Linked DNA regions of Homo sapiens: all the other regions are linked to region 1. Evidence: promoter capture Hi-C in 16 types of primary human blood cells and fetal thymus (Javierre and others, 2016). All regions are on one chromosome and are shown on one strand. The core of a region is centred on a gene start or on the middle of the fragment in contact, and the rest is flanking DNA. Distances in the headings are between cores, read along the strand shown.

Region 1 (4,088 bases), core at 1,150-3,649:
CCAAACCTCTGCTATCTCCCCCGCTGCCTACAGAATACAGTCAACGCTCCTCAGCTTGGATTCAAGGCTTTGGCCCCAATCTCCCTTTTTAAACCTCTCTAGGCTTATTTATTAAGTGCTTATTATATGCCAAGCACTAGGCTAGTCACTGAGTTCATAAACCAGTTGGAGAGACAGGTACATTGACTAATTTTAATAAGGTGTGATCAGCACTATTACAGAGACTGTGAGAACACAGATAGTTTCAGGTAATGGATGATAAAATATTGTTTTTGACCTCTGCAGGTTCACGAGTTCTGTCTACAATAGTAATGTCCAATACAGTGGTCAGACACATTTCAAGTGCTCAATAGCCACCTGGGGCTAGTGTCTGTCACACTGGATAGCTGAGCACAGATACTTTTATCACCCATGGACGTGGGGGTTAACTATAGCTGCTTCCAAGACAGCAAGGGAGCCGGGCTCGGTGGCTCACACCTGTAATCCCAGCACTTTGGGAGGCCAAGGCAGGTGGATCACGAGGCCAGGCGATCGAGACCATCCTGGCTAGTATGGTGAAACCCCGTCTCTACTAAAAATACAAAAAAAAAAAAAAAAAATAGCCGGGTGTGGTGGCATGCGCCTGTAGTCTCAGCTACGCGGGAGGCTGAGGCAGGGGAATCGCTTGAACCGGGGAGGCGGAGGTTGCAGTGAGCTGAGATCGCGCCACTGCACTCTAGCCTGGGCAAGAGAGCGAGACTCCGTCTCAAAAACAAATAAATAAATAAATAACCAAGACAGCAAGGAACATTTCCCATATGTGAAGCCTGTGGTGCTAGCTACCAGTTCCCCAAACACAACCCCTCTCCCCAACACCTTGGCTCGGGTATATTTTGTAGTACAGGCTCCCAAGAGAAAGAATGCATGAAAGTACTTTGTAAACTATTAAGTGATACAGAAATGTGATATAATAAACAGGCTCAGAGGTCTTGCTTTCATCATGGCTTTGGTTACTTCGAGCAAATTATAGCTCTTTTCTCAAACTACTCCCACCCCTATAATTTATGCCAAAGTGTTCTGAAAAGAAACACAGGCAAAATGGTTATCCTAGGGCTAAAAATCCTGATTATACCTACCTTGAAGCTTTTAATCCAGGACCCTACTTCACCACCCGCCTGCTCTGTCACTTTCTCTACAAAGGAAGGACACGAAGTAAGACTTCCAAAAGAACAAAACGTTTATTTTTTAAATTTAAGAATTATGGGAAACCTAAGTAATGGGAATTGCATCCTCATCGGGGTCTTCTGGCAAGTCGGAAGCACCACCCTCTCCTGTAGCTCGATGCTTCTCTAGTTTAGCAATCAATTCTTTCGCTGGATTGAAGACGCCATTGGTCTGCTGGTCACAGACATAGCAGCGCGGGGTGGTGCGGAAATGCTGCAGTGCACAGCTCTCGCAGAAATAATGCCTGCACTTGGTGACAACTGGGTTTTGGAAGCTCTGGCGACAGATGAAACACTTGAATGGTATTTCCTCATCATCGCTTCCCACTTCATAGTTTTCATCCTCATAGACACCATAGCGACCCTCATCAAGCTCACGTTCGATCTGCCACCCATGCTTGTAATCTGAACGGTCATGGAGGAATTTGCAGCTGTCTCCGAAGCCGCAGAAGCCAGTCTCTTTGTAGTCCTTACAGATGTCGGGCTGGTAATCCCAGCGCACGGTGGCACGTAGATGCTCGGGCGCTCGGATGGGGCCCTTCCTCACCATCCCGGAAGAGGCATTGCCCATAGACGTATCCTTGGGCTTCATGTATTTCTGATAATTGTTGATTCCCCGATAGATCTTGTCATCCTCCTTGCCCCTCAGCTCCTCCTGGATCTTCTGGCTGCGCTCAAAGATGGCTTGTGCATCGCGCTCTTTCTCTGTGTCCAGCTCATAGACAGCTGTCGCTCCCATATCCTCTGGTCCCACGGGTTTCGCCGAACGGGTGGATTTATAAACCACGCCGAGACTCTCGGGCTCATTTTCCTCTTCCTCTTCGCTGCTCAAGTCGCCGTAAGCCGCCTTCTGTTTACCACTGTCACGGGTCTTCTGTATCATTGGATTGTGGGTCACCCGCTTCTTTTCCGGTCGAACCACAGTGCAGCCTTCGTCGCTACTGCTGCCGCTTTCTCCGGGCTCTGGGTCGCAGGCCGGGCGCTTTCTGCGTCCAGCAGCCCCTTTCCGCCCAGGCTTTTTGAAAAGGAAGGTGCACACCTGATCCACCGCCTTTCCTGGAGAAAGCTGCTCTGCCATTTTAGAGTCCTGAGCTCCGAAACAGCCGTGGCTGCCTGGGTTGCACTTGGCCCCTGCACGTCACTCCACGTTGCGCGCTCCGCCGGGAGTCGAAGCAAAAGACACTGACGGAAGAGGACTGCGAGAGCCCGAGCGCCCGTCTCTCTTGTGCCCTAGCAGATTCCGTCGCTTCTTCCGGAGCCGTACGTGGCACCGCCCCGCTCGCGGGCGGCCGCGGGGCTTGCTGGGAAGAGAGGCGAAGCCAGGTCACCTTTCAAGGACCCAGAAGTAGGGTTTTGGCCTAGGTAACGGGGCAGAGATGTGGTTCGAGATTCTCCCCGGACTCTCCGTCATGGGCGTGTGCTTGTTGATTCCAGGACTGGCTACTGCGTACATCCACAGGTTCACTAACGGGGGCAAGGTAAGCCGGCTTCGGCCCGGGGGCCGACTCCACGGGCTGATTTCCGAAAAGGGTGGTGGGCAGGGAGACCGTCAGCCTGCGAACCCTCTCTCCGAGGTCGGCCCTCTACTTGCTTCCGGTTGCCTAGAAGCCGAGGCTTGCGAAACGAAGCCCGATAGAAACTACATCCTGCTCTAGTGAAAAACAGCGTTTCTGGGTGTATCAGAGTGGGCCTTAGGGCAGAGTAGCGACGCGGGGGCCGGGAAGGTAGATTAGAAAAGGTGGCTCAAGCCTGAGAATCGCTCACTGCAACCTCCGCCTTCTGGGTTCAAGAGATTCTCCTGGTTGGGCGCGGTGGATCACGCCTGTAATCCCAGCACTTTGGGAGACCGAGGCGAGCGGATCACCTGAGGTCGGGAGTTCGATACCAGCCTGACCAACATGGAGAAACCCCGTCTCTCCTAAAAATACAAAATTAGCTGGGCGTGGTGGCGCATGCCTGTAATCCCAGCTACTCGGGAGGCTGAGGCAGGAGAATCACTTGAACCCAGGAGGCGGAGGTTGCGATGAGCCGAGATCGCGCCACTGCACTCCAGCCTGGGCAACAAGAGCGAAACTCCGTCTCAAAAAAAAATAAATAAAGAAAGAAATTTTCCTGCTTCAGCCTCCCGAGTAGCCGGGACCACGCCTGGCTTTTTTTTTTTTTTTGTAGAGGCGGGGTTTCATCATGTTGGCGAGGCTGGTCTCGAACTTCTGACCTCGGTTGATCCACCCGCCTTGATCTCCCAAAGTGCTGGGATTACAGGCGTGAGCCGCCGCGACCGGCCACCCTTGACTTTTTTATTCCCCACTTTCTCTTGCAAGCCTTTAGGAATTTACTGCGAGATCTTGTTTTTTTACATCAGGATTCATTTTCCCCTCTTCCTAGTCCTTCACATCATCTCAAGAGTACAGGATATAAATTTATTTACTTTTTGATTTTGTTATTGTTCTTCACGTGTGATCTACAGCTGTTGTTTCTTAGTGTCCCAAAAGACAACAACTAGATATTTCTTTTTTTTTTTTTTTAAAAAAAAAGGAAAAAAAATTCATGTTGGTTAAAATAGTGTAAAAAGTCACAGGTACCAACTTAATCCTAAAGTTTAGTGGTCTGATTTTATTTAGGAGATTCTGTTCTTTGTACTACTAATTTGCATTTTTATTTAAACGATGATTCCATTTCTCTGGAATGTCCCTTTTAAAAATTGTAGTATCTATCAATTGGGTCACTCACTTTTATAAACTGCAACAATAATTGTCTCTTATTTGAAGGAAAAAAGGGTTGCTCATTTTGGGTATCACTGGAGTCTGATGGAAAGAGATAGGCGCATCTCTGGAGTTGATCGTTACTATGTGTCAAAGGTAAGATGCCACTCTGATGCCAGCCTTT
Region 2 (4,088 bases), core at 884-3,383, 360 kb before region 1:
ATCTCAGCTCACTGCAACCTCCACCTCCCAGGTTCAAGCGATTCTCATGCCTCAGCCTCCAGAGTAGCTGCGACTACAGGCGTGTGCCATCACGCCCGGCTAATTCTTGTATTTTTAGTAGAGACGGAGTTTCACCTTGTTGGCCAGGCTGGTCTCCAACTCCTGGGCTCACGTGATCCGCCTGCCTCAGCCTTCCAAAGTGTTGGGATTTACAGGCGTGAGCCACCACACCCGGCCGGGAATTCTTACATACCAGAAGAAGGGCATTATTTCTTCTGGTATATATACTTTCTTTGGGAAAGGTGTGTTTTGTGGCAAGTGGGGAAGGGGTTGTTTGTTGATTGGTTTATTTTTTAGAGATGGGATCTCACTATGTCACCCAGGTTGACCTCGAACTTCTGGGCTCAAATAATCCTCCGCCCTCAGCCTCCTGAGTATCTAGGACTATAGGCATGCACCACCACACCTAGCTTGGACAGGTGTGTTTTTATTTTCTTTTTTTTTCACCTTTTTTATTGTTTTAATTTTTTTTATTTCAATGGCTTTTGGCGTACAAGTGGTTTTTGGTTACATGGATGGATTATATAGTGGTGAATTCTGAGATTTTAGTGCACCCATCACCCAAGTAGTATACATTGTATCCATTTTACAGTTTTTTATCCTTCACCCACTCCCACCCTCCCCTTTCTGAGTCTCTAGTGTCCATCATACCACTCCACATGCCTTTGTGTACTGATAGCTTAGCTCTCACTTCTGAGTGAGAACATACAGTATTTGGTTTTCCATTCCTGAGTTACTTCACTTAGAATAACAGCCTCCAGCTCCATCCAAGTTGCCGAAAAAGACATTATTTCATTCTTTTTCTTTTTCTTTTTTTTTCTTTTTTTGTTTGGAGATGGAGTTTTGCTCTTGTCACCCAGGTTGGAGTGCAATGGCTCGATCTCAGCTCACTGCAACCTCCGCCTCCCGGGTTCAAGTGATTCTCCTGTGTCAGCCTCCCAAGTAGCTGGGATTACAGGTGCTTGCCACCACGCCTGGCTAATTTTTGTATCATTAGTAGAGATGGGGTTTCACCACGTTGGCCAGGCTGGTCTTGTATTCCTGACCTCAGGTGATCCGCACACCTCAGCCTCAGGAGAATCGCTTGAACCCGGGAGGCAGAGGTTGCAGTGAGCCGAGATCATGCCACTGCACTCCAGCCTGGAGGGCAAGAGCAAAACTCTGTCTCAATAATAATAATAATAATAATGGCCATTCTGGCTGGGGTAAGGTGGTATCTCATTATGGTTTTAATTTGTATTTCCCTGATGATTAGTGATGTTGAGCATTTTTTATGTGTGTGTTGGCCGTTTGTATATCTTCTTTTGAGAAATGTCTCTTCGTGTCATTTGCCCCCTTTTTAATGGGATTATTTGTTTATTTGTTTTCTTGCTGATTTGTTTGAGTTCCTTGTAGATTCTGTATATTACTCCTTTGTTGGACGCATAGTTTGCAAATATTTTCTTCCATTCTGTGGGTTCTGTTTACTCTGATGATTTTTTCTTTTGCTGTGCAAGAAGCTTTTCAGTTTAATTAGGTCCCATTTATTTTTGTTTTTGTGGCATTTGCTTTTCGGGTCTTAGTCATAAATTCTTTGCCTGCCTAGGCAAAGAATGTCCAGAAGAGTTTTTCCTAGGTTTTCTTCTAGAATTTTTATGATTTCAGGTCTTAGATTTAAGTCTTTGATCCATCTCAAGTTGATTTTTGCATAAGGTGAGAGATAGGGATACAGTTTCATTCTTCTACATGGGGCTAGCCAGTTTGCCCAGCACCATTTATTGAATAGGGTATCCTTTCCCCAACTTACGTTTTCGTATGCTTTGTCAAATATCAGTTGTTTGTAAGTATTTGGCTTTATTTCTGGGTTCTCTATTCTGTTCCATTGGTCTAATATAACTACTTTTATTTTATTTTATTTTTATTATTTGAGACAGTCTCTCCCTGTTGCCCAGGCTGGAGTGCAGTGGCGTGATCTTGACCTACCGCAATCTCTGCCTCCCAGGCTCAAGTGATTCTCCTGCCTCAGCCTCCTGAGTAGCTAGGATTACAGGCACGCACCACCATGCCTGGCTAATTTTCGTACTTTCAGTAGAGATGAGGTTTCACCATGTTGGCCAGCCTAGTCTCGAACTCCTGACCTCAGGTGATCCACAAGCCTCGGCCTCCCAAAGTGCTGGGATTACAAATGTGAGCCACCGCGCCCAGTTAATGTAACTACTTTTATATCAGTACTATTTTGTTTTGGTAACTATAGCCTTGTAGTATAATTTGAAGTCCGGTAATGTGATACCTCCAGATTTGTTCTTTTTGCTTAGGATTGCTTTGGCTATTCTGGCTCTTTTTTAGTTCCATATGAATTTTAGGATTTTTTCTGATTCTGTGAAAAATGATGTTGGTATTTTGATAGGAATTGCACTGAATCTGTAGATTGCTTTGGGCAGTATGGTCATTTTCACGATATTGATTCTACCCATCCATGAGCATAGAATGTGTTTCCATTTGTTTGTGTCATCTATGATTTCTTTCAGCAGTGTTTTGTAGTTCTCCTTGTAGAGCTCTTCCAGAGAGGTATGTTTTTAATAAAATAACTTATCTTTAAATGGAAGCGAAAACGTGTGGAAAACATCCCAATTGGTGAGGCAGGGTGAAAAGAAATACTGCAATTTCTGAAAGCTTTGGATAAACTCACACCTGATAGTTTACCAAAGGACTCAAAGATGACATTTGGGTCTTCATGTTCCATGATGACCTTGTCTGAGTCAGAGGAATCCATGGCTCAGCCACAGGGTGGCATTTTATGTTCTTGTGTTCTCACATCCTTCAAACATCCTCACTGCTGCATATGCACGCCCACACCTTCTTCCCACATCCCGAAACCACTGCCCGAAGACAGGCCAGGTGATCGGCAAAATGAAGCCCCTCAGCTTCCAGTGAGCAGACAGAAGGCTTCTTCTCAGCCCCTCCTTCCCCTTGCTGCTTCCCAGGGGAGAGGCAGACTGTGGCCCTATGATTTTAGGAGCAGTCCCTGTCCCCAGTTGCAATATGGGTTCAACTCCCGACTATTTATTAGTCTTAGGCCTCTTGCTCTGCCCTATTTTATGATGTTCAGAACAACTCTATGAAAATGATAAGGCTGGCATTTTTCAATCCTGCCTCTACACTGCAGGTAGGGGTGAAGCCTCTTCAATATTGTTTTCCTGCTGAGCATGGTGGCTCACGCCTGTAATCCCAGCACTTTGGAAGGCTGAGGCAGGAGGACTGCTTGAACCCAAGAGGTCGAAGCTGCAGTGAGCTATGATTGTGCCATTGCACTCAGCCTGGGCAACAGTGAGACCCTGCCTGAGAAAGAAAAAAAAAAAGTAGTGTTTTTTTCTTACTACTTCTCTTTTCAGAATGCTTTCAACTGCCTGCTATTTTGAGTCCAAATTCGTGGCATGACCTTCAAAAACAAGTTATCATTAATTCAGCACTTACTATGTGCCAGGCGTTGAATCTCTTGTATCCCCTGAACCTAGTAACAACTGTAGGACAGGCATGCCACTATCTTTCAAATGAGTGAATAAATCCTCAGAACAGCCAGAAAAGCAGGTATTATTATTCCCCATTCTATTAATGAGGAGACTGAGGCCTAGAGAAGTTAAGCCACTTGCCTGAGGTCACAGTTAATAAGAAGAAAAATCAAGATTCAAACCCAGGTCTGTCTGATTCTAAATCTTGGGGATGCTATATATATATATAAAAATATATATATTTCTATATATAGAAATATATATATAGAAATATATAGAAATATATATATCTTATTATTTTATTTTATTTTGAGATGGAGTCTTGCTCTGTCACCCAGGCTGGAGTGCAGTGGCATGACCTCTGCTCACTGCAACCTCTGCCTCCCGGGTTCAAGTGATTTTCGTGCCTCAGCCTCCCCAGTAGCTGGAACTACAGGCGTGCATCACCACACACAGCTAATTTTTGTCTTTTTTGGTAGACACGGGGTTCCACCATGTTGCCTAGGCTGGTCTCAAACTCCTGGCCTCAAGTGATCCACC
Region 3 (4,088 bases), core at 648-3,147, 330 kb before region 1:
GAGGTGGAGTGGATGACATCCAGGCTGTGGTATGGGAGTTTGTGGCTAAAGTGCAGGAAAGGTAAAGGTCACTGTCTGGAGTTGAGGTTAAGGAACTGTAAGGTTATGGTTTCTCATCCACATGACGGTTAATTATCTCTCAGAATGAGGACGGGAAACAAGGTAGAGAGGAAGAATTGGTTGCGAAGACTTCACTGGATACAGGAAAATAACTGGGAAGAAGGTAACACAGCCCCATCCTGGGCCTTCCTGGGACCCCCACCCCTCTTTTTCCCAGTTCTTGCTAGCTCACATCTAACCTACTTTGCCTTGCAAATAAGGAGATCAGAAAAAAAGCAAAACAAACAAACAAACCAAACAAAAACAAAAACATACAAACAAAAAAAAACCTGCCCTACTATCCTACTATCATCTCCCGGTAGCACCTCACGAACCTGCCTTGGGCACCTACTAAGTGCAACTTTTTGTAGATAATACAAGAAGGTTAACACAACTCCTGTCCCAACACCTTTTAATACAGTTGAATGGATAAAAACATGGATACAAACACATGGATATAGGTATCATTGAAGCAGTGTGACATAAAATAACATCTATATATACAACACTCCTCTGCAAATAACAAATGTAAAGTAAAAGATACCCAACAAATCATTTTGTTTATCTTGCTATCATTTCTTAATCTATAACGTCTCCCTCCCATGTATCCATGCAAGGAAGCAGTATCAGCTGCCCGACTAGAGGGTAGCTCCCTCCCTTGGGTTACTTTTTTTTTTTTTTTTTTTTGTAGAGACAGAGTCTCACTCTGTCGCCCAGGCTGGAGTGCTGGAGTACAGTGGTGCAATCTCAGCTCACTGCAACCTCCACCTCCCGAGTTCAAGCAATTCTCCTGCCTCTGCCTCCCAAGTAGCCGTGACTACAGGGGTATGCCGCCACACCTGGCTAATTTCTTTTGTATTTTAGTAGAGACAGGGTTTCACCATGTTGCCCAGGCTGGTCTCAAACTCCTGAGCTCAGGCAATCTGCCCGCCTCTGCCTCCCAAACTGCTAGGATTACAGGCGTGAGCCACCGTACCCGGCCACCCTTGGGTTACTTGAGACCCTACTTTCATTTGGATCTGAGCTGTCCTACCCACTCACTGCAATCTGGCTTTTCCTTCTTTGAGTATAAAGTCGATACGGGATGGCTCGCCTACAGCTTCAGTGTTTGAAGTAAAGAAAGCTTTATGCAGATTCTGGCTTTTAATGGGTCTCCTCTGACAGTAGAAAGATTCAAACCACAGCCAATTCCAAGAACCCTTCTAAGAACAGAGACAGAGTCACTTCAAAGGATCTGACTTGCTATACCTAAATATAATTCATGGTGCTTTTCCTATGACACACCATAATATTTTGTCCAAAAATCTTGCAACATGTTATTAACTTTGAAGAAAGAATAAAAGCAGCCACTTTAGAGACTGGAGACACTCAAGCACTCATCTATTCATAAAGTTTCTACACAGCTGAAGAAGTTTGCATCAAGTGGACAAAAAATAGTACAGAAAACCTAAATACAGAAAAATTCAGAAAACTCCATCTCCTAGAAAGCAGGGCAAGGCTGGGCACGGTGGCTCACTCCTGTAATCCCAGCACTTTGGGAGGCCTAGGTGGGTGGATCATTTGAGGTCAGGAGTTGGAGACCAGCCTGGCCAACATGGTGGAACCCGTCTCTACTAAAAATACAAAAATTAGCCAGGCGTGGTGGCACATGCCTGTAATCCCAGCTACTCAGGAGGCTGAGGCAGGAGAACTGCTTGAACCCGGGAGGCGGAGGTTGCAGTGAGCCGAGATCGCACCACTGCACTCCATCCTGGGCGAAAGAGCAAGACTTTATCTCAAAAAAAAAAAAAAAAAAAAGAAAGCAAGTTAAATGGACTCAGTTAAAGACCTCACTGAATGTAGGAGAATCAATGGGAAACAACGTAAAGCCTTCTGCTAGGGCATAAATAGGAATCCGTCTATGTAATCAAGAAATTACTTTGCCTCCTGATCTAAATGCTTGCCTCTAGTCTAGGGCTTAGAAAAAGGCCTGGTTATTTGAACTGGTTGTCAATCAAGGTCCCCTTCATTTTCGCTTTCTTGGCTTCCAATTCAGCCTAGAAAGAAAAAAAAAGCATATGTCTTGATACATGACATGAAATTATTTTCCTTCCTTATTCTAACCAACCCAAACACTCTCCCTTAATGTTCATTTAGTGTACAAACTAGAATCATGGTTCCCAAATCATTATATACCTCTAACATCTACTTTCCAACCTTTCTGATGTTATAGCACATACACAAAAAATGCTATTTGTAGGCAAAATGGGCAAAAAGACAAGGCTGTGGCCACAGGAAATCAGCGCAGGGATTCCAGCAGCCCCAGCGCCCCCCACAGGCTGAGGGAACCAATACTGTGGCATACCAGTATGCTATTCTTGGCAGAACAGGAAGAACATCATTCTACAACAGTGCTACTTAAAGTTATATGGTCTATGAACTATTTGTTATTGGTCCACACAAAATATGTACAAAAATGGATAGTAAGCATTTAGAAGCTTTTATAGCAATTTGACACAATAGTAATTTTTAAAATCTGATAAAAATTGAGACAATTCATTTTTATTGTATTTTATAAATTACAAATCTGTTCATGGAAATTTGAAAAAAGGAAAGCACTGGTCTTTCTGCCTTTGAAAGGTTGAGAAGCACTGTTCTAAACGACTATGGCAAGGTAAAGCAGCTCCCAGGACCCACCACTTCTGTCACCAAAAACTCACTACAGACACAAAGAGACTGGTATACCTTTGGATGAGACACCAACATAGTGATATCTGATTTTGATGAAATATTTTAAGTAATTGTCAAAAAAAAATACATAGGCACCATCATACACAGATCCATATGCTCTAAGATGAGCCCATGAATAGTGCAGAAAACCACCAGTGCTTTAAGAAGCAATGACCAGCCCCAATCCTGGTACTACCAAGGTAGCCCTATCATGTGCCATTACATCCTGGGACAACGTCCAGAAACCCTGACCTTTAACTCCTGATCTTGGACCACAAGAAGCAGATTAAAATATCATCCTGGCCTGGCGTGGTGGCTCACGCCTGAAATCCCAGTACTTTGGGAGCCCGAGGCGGGCAGATCACCTGAGGTCAGGAGTTCGAGACCAGCCTGGCCAACATGGTGAAACCCCATCTCTACTAAAAATACAAAAATTAGCCAGGTGTGGTGGCACGTGCCTGTAGTCCCAGCTACTCAGGAGGCTGAGGCAGGAGAATCCCTTGAACCCGGGAGGCGGAGGTTGCAGTGAGCTGAGACCACGCCACGGCACTCCAGCCTGGGCGACAAAGTGAGATTCCAGCTCCAAAATAAATAAATAAATAAAATAAAAATAAAATACAGAAAATAAAATATCATCCTAGTTAGGGCTATAACAAGTATCATCATTTAAGGCCTAGATCCTGGGGTCACTACTACAGAGTAGGGTATACTGACAGTCACAGACCAGGGTTATAAAACTGGCAGCCAACTACTCTAAAACCTCCCAACAGATTTCCTAAAAGATTTCCCTGCCTGCTGAAAGGTCTTTCAGACCAAGACATCCAAATGATAGGGCCCCAGCACCTTGCTACCCCTTGCTACTCACCAGCTCTTGCAGTCGCCTCTTGCTCATGCCTTTGCGCTCCAGCTGTTTTTCAATCACTTTGGCATTCTGTGCATATGAGTCAGCAACTTCCCTCTGAAGGAAAAAAGGAGCATCCTTAAACCGGAAGTCTCACCAAGGAATAACAACAAAGACGTTAAGTCATAATGTATACTACTCAAATCATGAAATCATGACTAAAATGGCAGGACTCTGTTCCTTTTCCATTCTCCATCTTTTCAGTAATCCAGGAGCACTTAGGGTATTTTGTTTGATTGCTTGTTTGTTTGTTTGTTTTGAGACAGAGACTGACTCTGTTGCCCAGGCTGGAGTGCAGTAGCACAATCTTGGCTCACTGCAACCTCCACCTCCCGGGTTCAAGTGATTCTTCAGTAGCATTTACGTTTTAACCAAAACA

Evidence for each region. The method cuts DNA at HindIII sites, captures the fragments that hold promoters and counts their contacts. A CHiCAGO score of 5 or more calls a contact.
Region 2: a fragment that was not itself captured here is called in contact with the fragment with the promoter of RNF113A in region 1 in 7 of 17 cell types (total CD4 T cells, fetal thymus, naive CD8 T cells and 4 more); the score reaches 6.9 in total CD4 T cells.
Region 3: a contact is called between a fragment that was not itself captured here and the fragment with the promoter of RNF113A in region 1, in 5 of 17 cell types (non-activated CD4 T cells, neutrophils, naive CD4 T cells and 2 more). The highest score is 5.9, in non-activated CD4 T cells.

The regions. Positions count from the first base shown.
Region 1 is chrX:119,869,334-119,873,421 of GRCh38, forward strand. It overlaps RNF113A (ring finger protein 113A), which reads right to left and starts at 2,400. Exons shown (of 1, transcript NM_006978.3): 1 at 1,142-2,400. The coding sequence starts at 2,280. The coding sequence ends at 1,249. It overlaps NDUFA1 (NADH:ubiquinone oxidoreductase subunit A1), which reads left to right and starts at 2,499. Exons shown (of 3, transcript NM_004541.4): 1 at 2,499-2,680; 2 at 3,971-4,060. The coding sequence starts at 2,579. RefSeq lists an enhancer at 2,113-2,822. The HindIII fragment of the contact is 12,659 bases long and covers 1,121-4,088 here.
Region 2 is chrX:119,508,073-119,512,160 of GRCh38, forward strand. No RefSeq gene overlaps it. Among named protein-coding and RNA genes, the nearest start is that of SLC25A5-AS1, 41 kb to the left of the region's middle. The HindIII fragment of the contact is 1,153 bases long and covers 1,558-2,710 here.
Region 3 is chrX:119,537,655-119,541,742 of GRCh38, forward strand. It overlaps STEEP1 (STING1 ER exit protein 1), which reads right to left. Exons shown (of 7, transcript NM_022101.4): 6 at 3,674-3,766; 7 at 495-2,135. The coding sequence ends at 2,073. Among named protein-coding and RNA genes, the nearest start is that of STEEP1, 26 kb to the right of the region's middle. RefSeq lists an enhancer at 4,056-4,088. The HindIII fragment of the contact is 1,354 bases long and covers 1,221-2,574 here.